Linked DNA regions of Homo sapiens: region 2 is linked to region 1. Evidence: promoter capture Hi-C in human tissues and cell types (Jung and others, 2019). All regions are on one chromosome and are shown on one strand. Each heading gives the region's core, a stretch centred on a gene start or on the middle of the fragment in contact. The rest is flanking DNA. Distances are from core to core; before and after follow the strand shown.

The links. The method cuts DNA at HindIII sites, captures the fragments that hold promoters and counts their contacts. A contact is called where the count stands out against the background at its distance.
Region 2: a contact is called between a fragment that was not itself captured here and the fragment with the promoter of OLFML3 in region 1, in 2 of the 25 tissues and cell types used here (bladder and small bowel).

The regions. Positions count from the first base shown.
Region 1 is chr1:113,975,897-113,980,801 of GRCh38, forward strand. OLFML3 (olfactomedin like 3) reads left to right here and starts at 3,578. Exons shown (of 3, transcript NM_020190.5): 1 at 3,578-3,734; 2 at 4,436-4,721. The coding sequence starts at 3,621. It overlaps HIPK1 (homeodomain interacting protein kinase 1), which reads left to right. Exons shown (of 16, transcript NM_198268.3): 16 at 1-1,973. RefSeq lists enhancers at 939-1,516, 2,822-3,655. The HindIII fragment of the contact is 5,723 bases long and covers 1,679-4,905 here.
Region 2 is chr1:114,370,746-114,376,309 of GRCh38, forward strand. No RefSeq gene overlaps it. Among named protein-coding and RNA genes, the nearest start is that of TRIM33, 140 kb to the right of the region's middle. RefSeq lists a silencer at 3,328-3,528. The HindIII fragment of the contact is 4,490 bases long and covers 1-3,705 here.

The DNA.
Region 1 (4,905 bases), core at 2,328-4,827:
CATAAAGGATTTGGGGAAAGAAGATTAATCCTAAAATACAGGTGTGTTCCATCTGAATTGAAAATGATATATTTGAGATATAATTTTAGGACTGGTTCTGTGTAGATAGAGATGGTGTCAAGGAGGTGCAGGATGGAGATGGGAGATTTCATGGAGCCTGGTCAGCCAGCTCTGTACCAGGTTGAACACCGAGGAGCTGTCAAAGTATTTGGAGTTTCTTCATTGTAAGGAGTAAGGGCTTCCAAGATGGGGCAGGTAGTCCGTACAGCCTACCAGGAACATGTTGTGTTTTCTTTATTTTTTAAAATCATTATATTGAGTTGTGTTTTCAGCACTATATTGGTCAAGATAGCCAAGCAGTTTGTATAATTTCTGTCACTAGTGTCATACAGTTTTCTGGTCAACATGTGTGATCTTTGTGTCTCCTTTTTGCCAAGCACATTCTGATTTTCTTGTTGGAACACAGGTCTAGTTTCTAAAGGACAAATTTTTTGTTCCTTGTCTTTTTTCTGTAAGGGACAAGATTTGTTGTTTTTGTAAGAAATGAGATGCAGGAAAGAAAACCAAATCCCATTCCTGCACCCCAGTCCAATAAGCAGATACCACTTAAGATAGGAGTCTAAACTCCACAGAAAAGGATAATACCAAGAGCTTGTATTGTTACCTTAGTCACTTGCCTAGCAGTGTGTGGCTTTAAAAACTAGAGATTTTTCAGTCTTAGTCTGCAAACTGGCATTTCCGATTTTCCAGCATAAAAATCCACCTGTGTCTGCTGAATGTGTATGTATGTGCTCACTGTGGCTTTAGATTCTGTCCCTGGGGTTAGCCCTGTTGGCCCTGACAGGAAGGGAGGAAGCCTGGTGAATTTAGTGAGCAGCTGGCCTGGGTCACAGTGACCTGACCTCAAACCAGCTTAAGGCTTTAAGTCCTCTCTCAGAACTTGGCATTTCCAACTTCTTCCTTTCCGGGTGAGAGAAGAAGCGGAGAAGGGTTCAGTGTAGCCACTCTGGGCTCATAGGGACACTTGGTCACTCCAGAGTTTTTAATAGCTCCCAGGAGGTGATATTATTTTCAGTGCTCAGCTGAAATACCAACCCCAGGAATAAGAACTCCATTTCAAACAGTTCTGGCCATTCTGAGCCTGCTTTTGTGATTGCTCATCCATTGTCCTCCACTAGAGGGGCTAAGCTTGACTGCCCTTAGCCAGGCAAGCACAGTAATGTGTGTTTTGTTCAGCATTATTATGCAAAAATTCACTAGTTGAGATGGTTTGTTTTAGGATAGGAAATGAAATTGCCTCTCAGTGACAGGAGTGGCCCGAGCCTGCTTCCTATTTTGATTTTTTTTTTTTTTAACTGATAGATGGTGCAGCATGTCTACATGGTTGTTTGTTGCTAAACTTTATATAATGTGTGGTTTCAATTCAGCTTGAAAAATAATCTCACTACATGTAGCAGTACATTATATGTACATTATATGTAATGTTAGTATTTCTGCTTTGAATCCTTGATATTGCAATGGAATTCCTACTTTATTAAATGTATTTGATATGCTAGTTATTGTGTGCGATTTAAACTTTTTTTGCTTTCTCCCTTTTTTTGGTTGTGCGCTTTCTTTTACAACAAGCCTCTAGAAACAGATAGTTTCTGAGAATTACTGAGCTATGTTTGTAATGCAGATGTACTTAGGGAGTATGTAAAATAATCATTTTAACAAAAGAAATAGATATTTAAAATTTAATACTAACTATGGGAAAAGGGTCCATTGTGTAAAACATAGTTTATCTTTGGATTCAATGTTTGTCTTTGGTTTTACAAAGTAGCTTGTATTTTCAGTATTTTCTACATAATATGGTAAAATGTAGAGCAATTGCAATGCATCAATAAAATGGGTAAATTTTCTGACTTATGTGGCTGTTTTTGACTTCTGTTATAGGATATAAAGGGGATCAATAAATGACATCTTTGAAAGTGGCTAAGCATATTGTATTTGAACATCAGTAGAGTACTAGAGACAATTTCATTCTTCACACAAATCTCCATACTGGAAATGAATAGGGTTTGGCAGGGAATACTTCCCAAGAATGCAGTGTCCAGGGTCCTTACTTCACATCATCTGGATCTGACCCTTTGAAAGAGGTAGAAGACTTCTGAGACCGGCTAATTAAGCTTTGTTTCCTCATATGTTTTGCCAGATAGCAGTAGCAGAATGAAAAGATGAGTAACCACAGGAAGCTGCTATTTTTCCCCTCCTTTCAAACTGTACTGTTAGAGTCATGGTCCTTTTTACAGAAGGAACCTCTCATCAGATTCTGTTGATTCTAAAGTGAATAGAATTTCTCCCGATAAAGAAATAGGGGTTTGTTTCGATTAATGACTGCAGGTCTCTGAGTAAATGCTCTATTTGATTTTTTTTTTCGGCCCGTGTGTCTACCTTATGGCCCAAGTCTACCTTATGGTGGCCATTAATTCATTTTGGGCTCCTGCAGCCTTAGTTGGGATATAGAAATGAGAAACACTCAGAAATACCCTTTTGGACCACAACCAAGAGAAATAACCAATAGTCTTTTCTCCCAGTGGTAAGGAAGTCAGAATACATTGATCTAGACTGCAACAACATATATATATATATCAGATTCCGCCCCCCCGCAATACATGAATGTATAGTAAATTAGTGTGAACTCACTGAACACTCCTCAGTTTTGGTGAGAGACTATATCTGGCCTCTTTCAAGCAAAGGAAAGCCATGTAAAACAGCGCTGCTGTCAGCCTTAACTTCCAGACGATCGAGTTAATTTACTAACTTCTCAGTGACCTGTTTTTTTTTTTTTTTTAATCTCAGTTATATTTTCTTCCTTGGGCTAAATCAGATATTTGCATAGCCCCCAAAGTAGTAATTGGATAGTCTTGGGGGAAATATGCATTTCAGTGGTGAAAACCCCTGTAAATTCAATATATTTGGCTTTTGTGGAAAATTTTCCTCATGGGGTGAAGTCTAAGCCTTAGTTTCTGTATTATCATGAGAGATGACACCAGCTGCTTAGCACAAGGTGGCGCCAATGAGCTTTAGAATAAGTTGGGCTTGACCACTTGGGCCATTGTTTTCCTGCTTCCTCCCTTCAAGCCTCACCTCCCCAGCTCCCAGCTTCTACTGAACAAGGCTGAAAACCCACTCTATTGCAGGGAAAGGGAAAGATTAATGAAAAATGTCAGTTTCTTAAGTCAGCACTGGTGAAACTTTCCTAAAACAGGAATGGCGTTTGCTGAGTTTTCTCTGGGGTCTCTGCTTTCTGCAGCTAGCTTCCCTGCTTGACTGCCTAGAAGGCCTCTGCTTTCGGGTTTCCATCTCTTTCCCCTCCAGAGGACCCTACAGCCTAGGCGGGAGGTGGTTAAGGCTTCTGGCTGCTGTGCAATGGGGCCATCTGTGTTTGATCAATCCTGGCGGAAAGGAGGGGGTGGGGGTTGTAAAGAGAACTGAAAGCATTCCAGAGTAGTGAGAGAGACCCAGAGATCAGGAGAGAAGGCACCGCCCCCACCCCGCCTCCAAAGCTAACCCTCGGGCTTGAGGGGAAGAGGCTGACTGTACGTTCCTTCTACTCTGGCACCACTCTCCAGGCTGCCATGGGGCCCAGCACCCCTCTCCTCATCTTGTTCCTTTTGTCATGGTCGGGACCCCTCCAAGGACAGCAGCACCACCTTGTGGAGTACATGGAACGCCGACTAGCTGCTTTAGAGGTGAGGGACCCCTTTCTCTTCTAGCCCCGCCTAGAAGGATTCCAGGGCTATTGGTTCAACCAGTTTGTTAGGGATCTGGGGATAACAAGAAAGGGCTCTGTTAGAGTCTACAGAAAATTCTCTCTTAATAAGAGGACCTTCGGAATGACAAGCCCTCCTCTTACCCCACATAGAACAATTCCAAAGCAAATCGACTTTTGCGTTTTACCTCTGGGATTAGATAGAATAAGGGGGCAGAGTGGAAACGAGAGCCAAAATTGTGGGGCTGCATCTCCAGAGAAGGTGATGATTCTGTTGAAGTTGGAGGTTCCCGGGGAATCTATAACTTCCTGTCTTTTTAACAGGTTGAGATCCGTAGCATTTTAGTGTCCGAGAGGATAATTGCTAAGGGAGCAGAGACCTCTTCACACCTTCATGCGCTTAGACCTGCCTAGAGGCTCAGATGGCTCAGTGGCACTGCTCACAGAGAACACAGGCTGGAGGACATGGAGTCGGGGTAGGGGCCTAGGTGAATCTCAGCTAGGCTCTTTGCACATTTAGCACCTCTGCACATCTGGTTTCCTTTTCTGCAGGAGTGGAAGGGGATATTGAAGCCTGGCTGAGTTTGCTCTTTTTTTCCCATTCCTGACTCCCGAGTTGGGCCTCTCCCTGCCTGGGAGTTGTAACCCTGCAGCCTCCCTCCTGATCCCCCATCCCTTCAGGAACGGCTGGCCCAGTGCCAGGACCAGAGTAGTCGGCATGCTGCTGAGCTGCGGGACTTCAAGAACAAGATGCTGCCACTGCTGGAGGTGGCAGAGAAGGAGCGGGAGGCACTCAGAACTGAGGCCGACACCATCTCCGGGAGAGTGGATCGTCTGGAGCGGGAGGTAGACTATCTGGAGACCCAGAACCCAGCTCTGCCCTGTGTAGAGTTTGATGAGAAGGTGACTGGAGGCCCTGGGACCAAAGGCAAGGGAAGAAGGAATGAGAAGTACGATATGGTGACAGGTAAATAATCTGAAAGCAGGCCCCTAACTCTTCTCAGAACCGATATTCTTCCTTCCTTGCTTCTTACTCTTTTTTTCGCTTTGTCCCAGTCCATTGTGGCTCTGTCTTCTGGAATCTGTTTTAGGGAAACCTCTGTAATGCCAGGTCTATTAAGGAGAGGTTCTGGGGATCCAGGCCGCTGTGG
Region 2 (5,564 bases), core at 211-2,710, 390 kb after region 1:
AAAGACTAGTCAAATACTCTTTCAAGTTTATGTAACTTAAGTAAAATCTTTAATAAATAAGCTAGCTTTAAAAGTATTGGTAAAGTAATATTAGAACTGTCTTAAGAATTGCCAGCAAACATTTTTGTTTGCATTTATTGATCAAGCAATATCATACTTTTCCCTGGCAAATACCATAAGGTGTCAAAATTTAACACAGGGGTTATGAAACTATAAATCCAGCCCAAAACAGAATGATCTTTGCTTGTGTAATTTTTTTTTTTTTTTGAGACAGAGTTTCACTCTTGTTGCCCAGGCTGGAGTGCAATGGTGTGATCTTGGCTCACCACAAACTCCGCCTCCCAGGTTCAAGCAATTCTCCTGCCTCAGACTCCTGAGTAGCTGGGATTACAGGCATGCGCCACCATGCATGGCTAATTTTGTATTTTTAGTAGAGACAGGGTTTCTCCATGTTGGTCAGGCTGGTCTCAAGTTCCCAACCTCAGGTGATCCATCCGCTTCGGCCTCCCAAAGTGCTGGGATTACAGGCATGAGCCACTGCACCTAGCCACTTGTGTAATTTTTAATAAATAAGATATTGATACTGGTTTAATGAAAACAGCTACATCTTGAATTATTTAGTAAAATTATCATAACTTCTAATCTTATGGTTTTAGGCAATGTAGTCCACAGGCAGTAAGGTGGTTTGTTTGGGAAAAGACTTTTATCATCTTTGTTTCAAAGCTTAACTATAAACTCTCTTTCTCTCAAAGTGAATTTGACTTATGTCCAGGAATGAACAAGGACAGGTTGGAGGTTAGAAGCAAGATGGACTCAGGTCATGTCTTTTTTCACTATCTCAGTTATAATTTTGCAATGGCAAATTTCATAAGTTTAAATGATGACTATCACAGTTTTCATAAATAATCTAGATAAACAATTAAAATAAAATAATTAGGTAAACATAATGGGATAAATACTTGTAGACAAACTTCTCATAATTTAGAATCTAAAGGTATATTAAATTAAATAATAGATATCTCAATAAAAATATATATTGTAGGAAAACATCCTTTCTTAAAAAAAAAAGTGTCCTTTTGGCTGGGCACAGTGGCTCACGCCTGTAATCCCAGCACTTTGAGAGACTGAGACAGGTGGATCATGAGATCAGGAGTTTGAGACCAGCCTGGCCAACATAGTGAAACCCCGTCTCTACTAAAAATACAAAAATTAGCCAGGTGTGGTGGCATGTGCCTGTAGTCCCAGCTACTCAAGAGGCTGAGGCGGGAGAATGGATTGAACTCGGGAGCGGAGGTTGCAGTGAGCAGAGACCACGTCATTGCACTCCAGCCTGGGTGACAGACTGAGACTCCATCTCAAAAAAAACAAAAGTGTCCTTTTTAAAAAGGTGAACAATTCGTGTCTAATTCAAAGCTTATTTAAAGGTTATGTATAAAACAATGTAAAGGGAACAAGGAAATAACAGAGATGTAAAGAAAGTTATAGAAATAAAGAGGTATTTTTTGGTAAGAAAGCTTAGTTTTCTCTCCCCTTTTAAAAGGCATGAAATAGAAATGCTCTCCTTCAACTTATTTTCAGCTCACATAAATTTTTTTTCCCTCGAGTTATGTTTGTTGTGGCCTGATACTAACAATGTTTTCTTAAAGGTCTAAAGGAAATGTTTTCTTTCAACATAATATTCTGTACACTGCAGAAGGTCTTTTCTTTTGCTTTTTGGTAACTGGCCTAACACATTTTACATTCTATCAAAATATTTTCTATGCCATTATTATGAAGTTTTGGCTTGCTTAGAAAAAAACTGTGATAAACATTTTTAAAATTAAGATTATTGCATCTGTGTATCTTTCTGTATGTACTTTTAAAGTCATTGTGACATTCAGTTACAGGGCTTTGACTCCTGGGTCTAAAAAGGACACCAAGTCCTGCTAAATTTTAAACCCTGACAGTAATTAAAGTCTCATCTTCAGGCCTGGTAGAAGACGCCAATCAAAATAAACTGCATTCCTGAGACACAGGGCCAGAAATTAAAGCTATTCAACTCCTCAGGGCCCAGAGACTATTGCAGAAGAGATGGGTGTGTGAGATTGTCAGGGCCAATTTGACAGATAAAATAAGTTCAGTTTTTCTATAAATTAATGATTAATGTCAAAGGCACACTGATGCAAGACACTGATGCAAGCATATGGGCCCCTGTGTCAGATTGACAAAGTTTTCTTGAAGCATTAACCAACTCCTTAATAAATGTTATAAAGTTTATAAAAGGCTTATGGAAGTTATATCTTGTAGTCAATATAAAAATTTTAGAGATTGTTTATAAAATTTTGGAAAGCAAATTTAATTGGCTTCATTCTGTTTTCATTAGGGCTTATTGTTTGGAAAATTAAGTCTCCTCTCTCAAAGAATGAAGGTTTTTGTCTTTTGTTGAAATCCTTATCACTTTTATTAAATGAATGACTTATTTTACAATGATCTGTGATCCTATTTTGTGATATCAAGTGTTTTAAACCTTTGATATTTGACAAACTTTCCAAAATCAAATTATAAATTATGTGTTTTTCTGATCTAATTAATATTTTAAGATATTAGGTTCCCTAAAGCCCAAAAATGATATATTTGGCTTATTTGGTATAAAAATTTTACAGAAAGCATTGTCAAATATAAAATGGTATTTGGTTTTCTTTGGGCTGTATTTGTATAAATATGTTATTGGTATGTGTTCCAAAATTGTGGAGAAACTCCTATAATTCTGATATGACTTACTGTACATTAACAGTAATAATTATAATTGTTATGTTAAATTATTGTGTGCCACAGAAGCAACAAATTTCCTTGTGAATTGTGTCTTTGACTATGGCTGCCCTAAAACTCTTTGTCATCCACAAACAATTATTGTCTTGTTTGGGTCCTCTTTAGAAAGTGGTTTGATAATCAGCTATAAAACTCAAACAGGTACTTTTGAATGCAGGTTTCTGATAACTTTGAAGATTGTGACATCAGAATAGAGGAAAAACTTTCAGGACTCATGGAGAGCTGAAATGCTCATGAATATCAAGCAGAATAGGAATTAACTGCATGGACTGAAGTAAAAGAAGACTGAAGTAATCTTTTTGACGTTTTGCTGAAAACGTTGCTGATCCTTTTGTTTTTCAGAGTCAAGGAAATTTTGTTTTGAGCTACTGACAGATTTTTTTTTTTTTGACACAATTTTGCTCCTTTTTCCCAGGCTGCAGTGCAATGGCACAATCTTGGCTCACCACAACCTCTGCCCCCTCAGTTCAAGCGATTCTCCTGCCTCAGTCTCCCAAATAGCTGGGATTATGGCATGCACTACCATGCCTAACTTTGTATTTTTAGTAGAGACAGGGTTTCTCCATGTTGGTCAGGCTGGTCTCAAACTCCTAACCTTAAGTGATCCGCCTGCCTCATCCTCCCAAAGTGCTGGGATTACAGGTGTGAGCCACCATGCTCAGCCTACTGACAGCTTTTAACAATTAAATATACTCCTATGAAAAAAATTTGGAGCATATTTGTTTCTCTCTACCTGATTTCTCCAGAATTTAGAAACTATTTGTGAACATTCTTAACTTATGACAATATTGTTATTTGCATAAGTGCAATAAGAATCTGTTTTCATTTGTAAATGAAATAGGACACCATTGGGGAAACTGGTTATTTCACCAAGGCTTTGACTGGAATGGTGTGCATTCCTGTAAGGAATCAAACTTGACTTACAGAGCCAATAAAAGTGCCTTGGGAAAGCTGGCCTCATACTTTGTACATAGTCCCTGTAGAGAGTTCCTGACCTGTGGTAAGTAAGGAATGTCACTTTCTGACAGGCCCAGGAGCCCCAAGTTATCTTGGGACATCAAGAGGAGAAAAATTCACCCAACTTACAGGTATTTGATGGTACAAATCCATGGCTGGGCTTGGTTTTAAAAAGTCTTATCTGAGATTCCTTCTATGGAACAAAGTTCCATCAAAGCCAATTTTAAAAGCCTATGTAAAAAATAATTATTCTTAGATGGGCATGGTGGCTTACACCTGTAATCTCAGCAATTTGGGAGGCCAAGGTGGGCAGATCACAAGGTTAGGAATTCGAGACCAGCCTGGCCAACATAGTGAAACCCCACCTCTACTAAAAATACAAAAAAAATTAGCCAGGCATGGTGGCATGTGCCTTTAGTCCCAGCTAATCGGGAGGCTGAGGCAGAAGAATCACTTGAACCTGGGAAGTGGAGGTTGCAGTGAGCTGAGACCATGCCATTGCACTCCAGCCTAGGTGACAAAGCGAGATTCCATCTCAAAAAAAAAATTATTTTTGCTGCATTTTTTTTGAGACAGTCTCATTCTGTTACCCAGGCTGGAGTGCAGTGGTGCAATCTCAGCTCACTGCAACCTCTGCATCCCGGGTTCAAGCAATTCTCCTACCTCAGCCTCCCAAGTAGCTGGGACTATAGGCACGTGTCCCCACGCCTGGCTAATTTTTTGTATTTTCAGTAGAGATGGGGTTTCACTGTGTTAGCCAGGCTGGTCTCGATCTCATGACCTTGTGATCTGCCCGCCTCGGCCCCCCAAAGTGTGGGGATTACAGCTCTGAGCCACCGCACCTGGCCTTTCTTGCTGCATTTTATACAAATAATCTGGCCAAGTATAATAAAGCAAATTGGTCCTACCATGATTTCTCTTTAGTAAAAATGGGAAACTAGAGAGAGAAAAATTATGTTTCAAAAAGTATAGTATACCTGTTGTTAGATTCTAGTCTTGCCTAATGTTTTTCAATTTTTATTATTTTCTACAGTATGGTCTGAATTCTAATTTTTCCTGGATGCAAGTCTCCAAAACAATGTTTACAATTTTTTTCTCCTTTCTTTTGCTTCACCCCCCATTTTTCCCAATTTTAAATCTCTGAAAACTAGGCTATGTTTTCTTAAATCCCTGTGAACTGAATCTAGACAACTTAAACTTAGGTAGAAAATAACAGCCATCTATTTGCATACATAAGCCACTTTCATAACTGCCTAATGATGTATGGACTTCAGAGTAATGTGGCCTATATTGATTTTCCAGGATTGTTCTTTTGTTTGTTGTTGTCTTTCTCCCTTCCTCCCCTTATTTTCTCTTCATAGGACATGAGACTTCTCAACCTGCTAAAAATGAGCTTTCCTAATAACTCTAAGAATAAACCATCCTAGCCATGAGAGATCAGAAAAAACCTGAGACCAGAGGCTCATTTTCTTATAAAATGCTTTCTCCAAAAGATTTTTTTAAAGGGGGGAGATGTGAAAGGAAAATAAATTTTGGGGCCCCCAAATCACTAAGCTAAAGGGAAAAGTCAAGCTGGGAACTGCTTAGTGCAAACCTGCCTTCCATTTTGTTTAATATTCAAAGCCATCCATCTGCTCATTGAGATGAATGCATATCTGATTGCCTCCTTCGGAAAGGCTAATCAGAAACTCAAAAGAATGCAACCATTTGTCTCTTACCTACCTGTGACCTGGAAGACTCCTCCCTGCTTGAGTTGTCCCACCTTTCTGGATGGAACCAATGTACATCCTACATATATT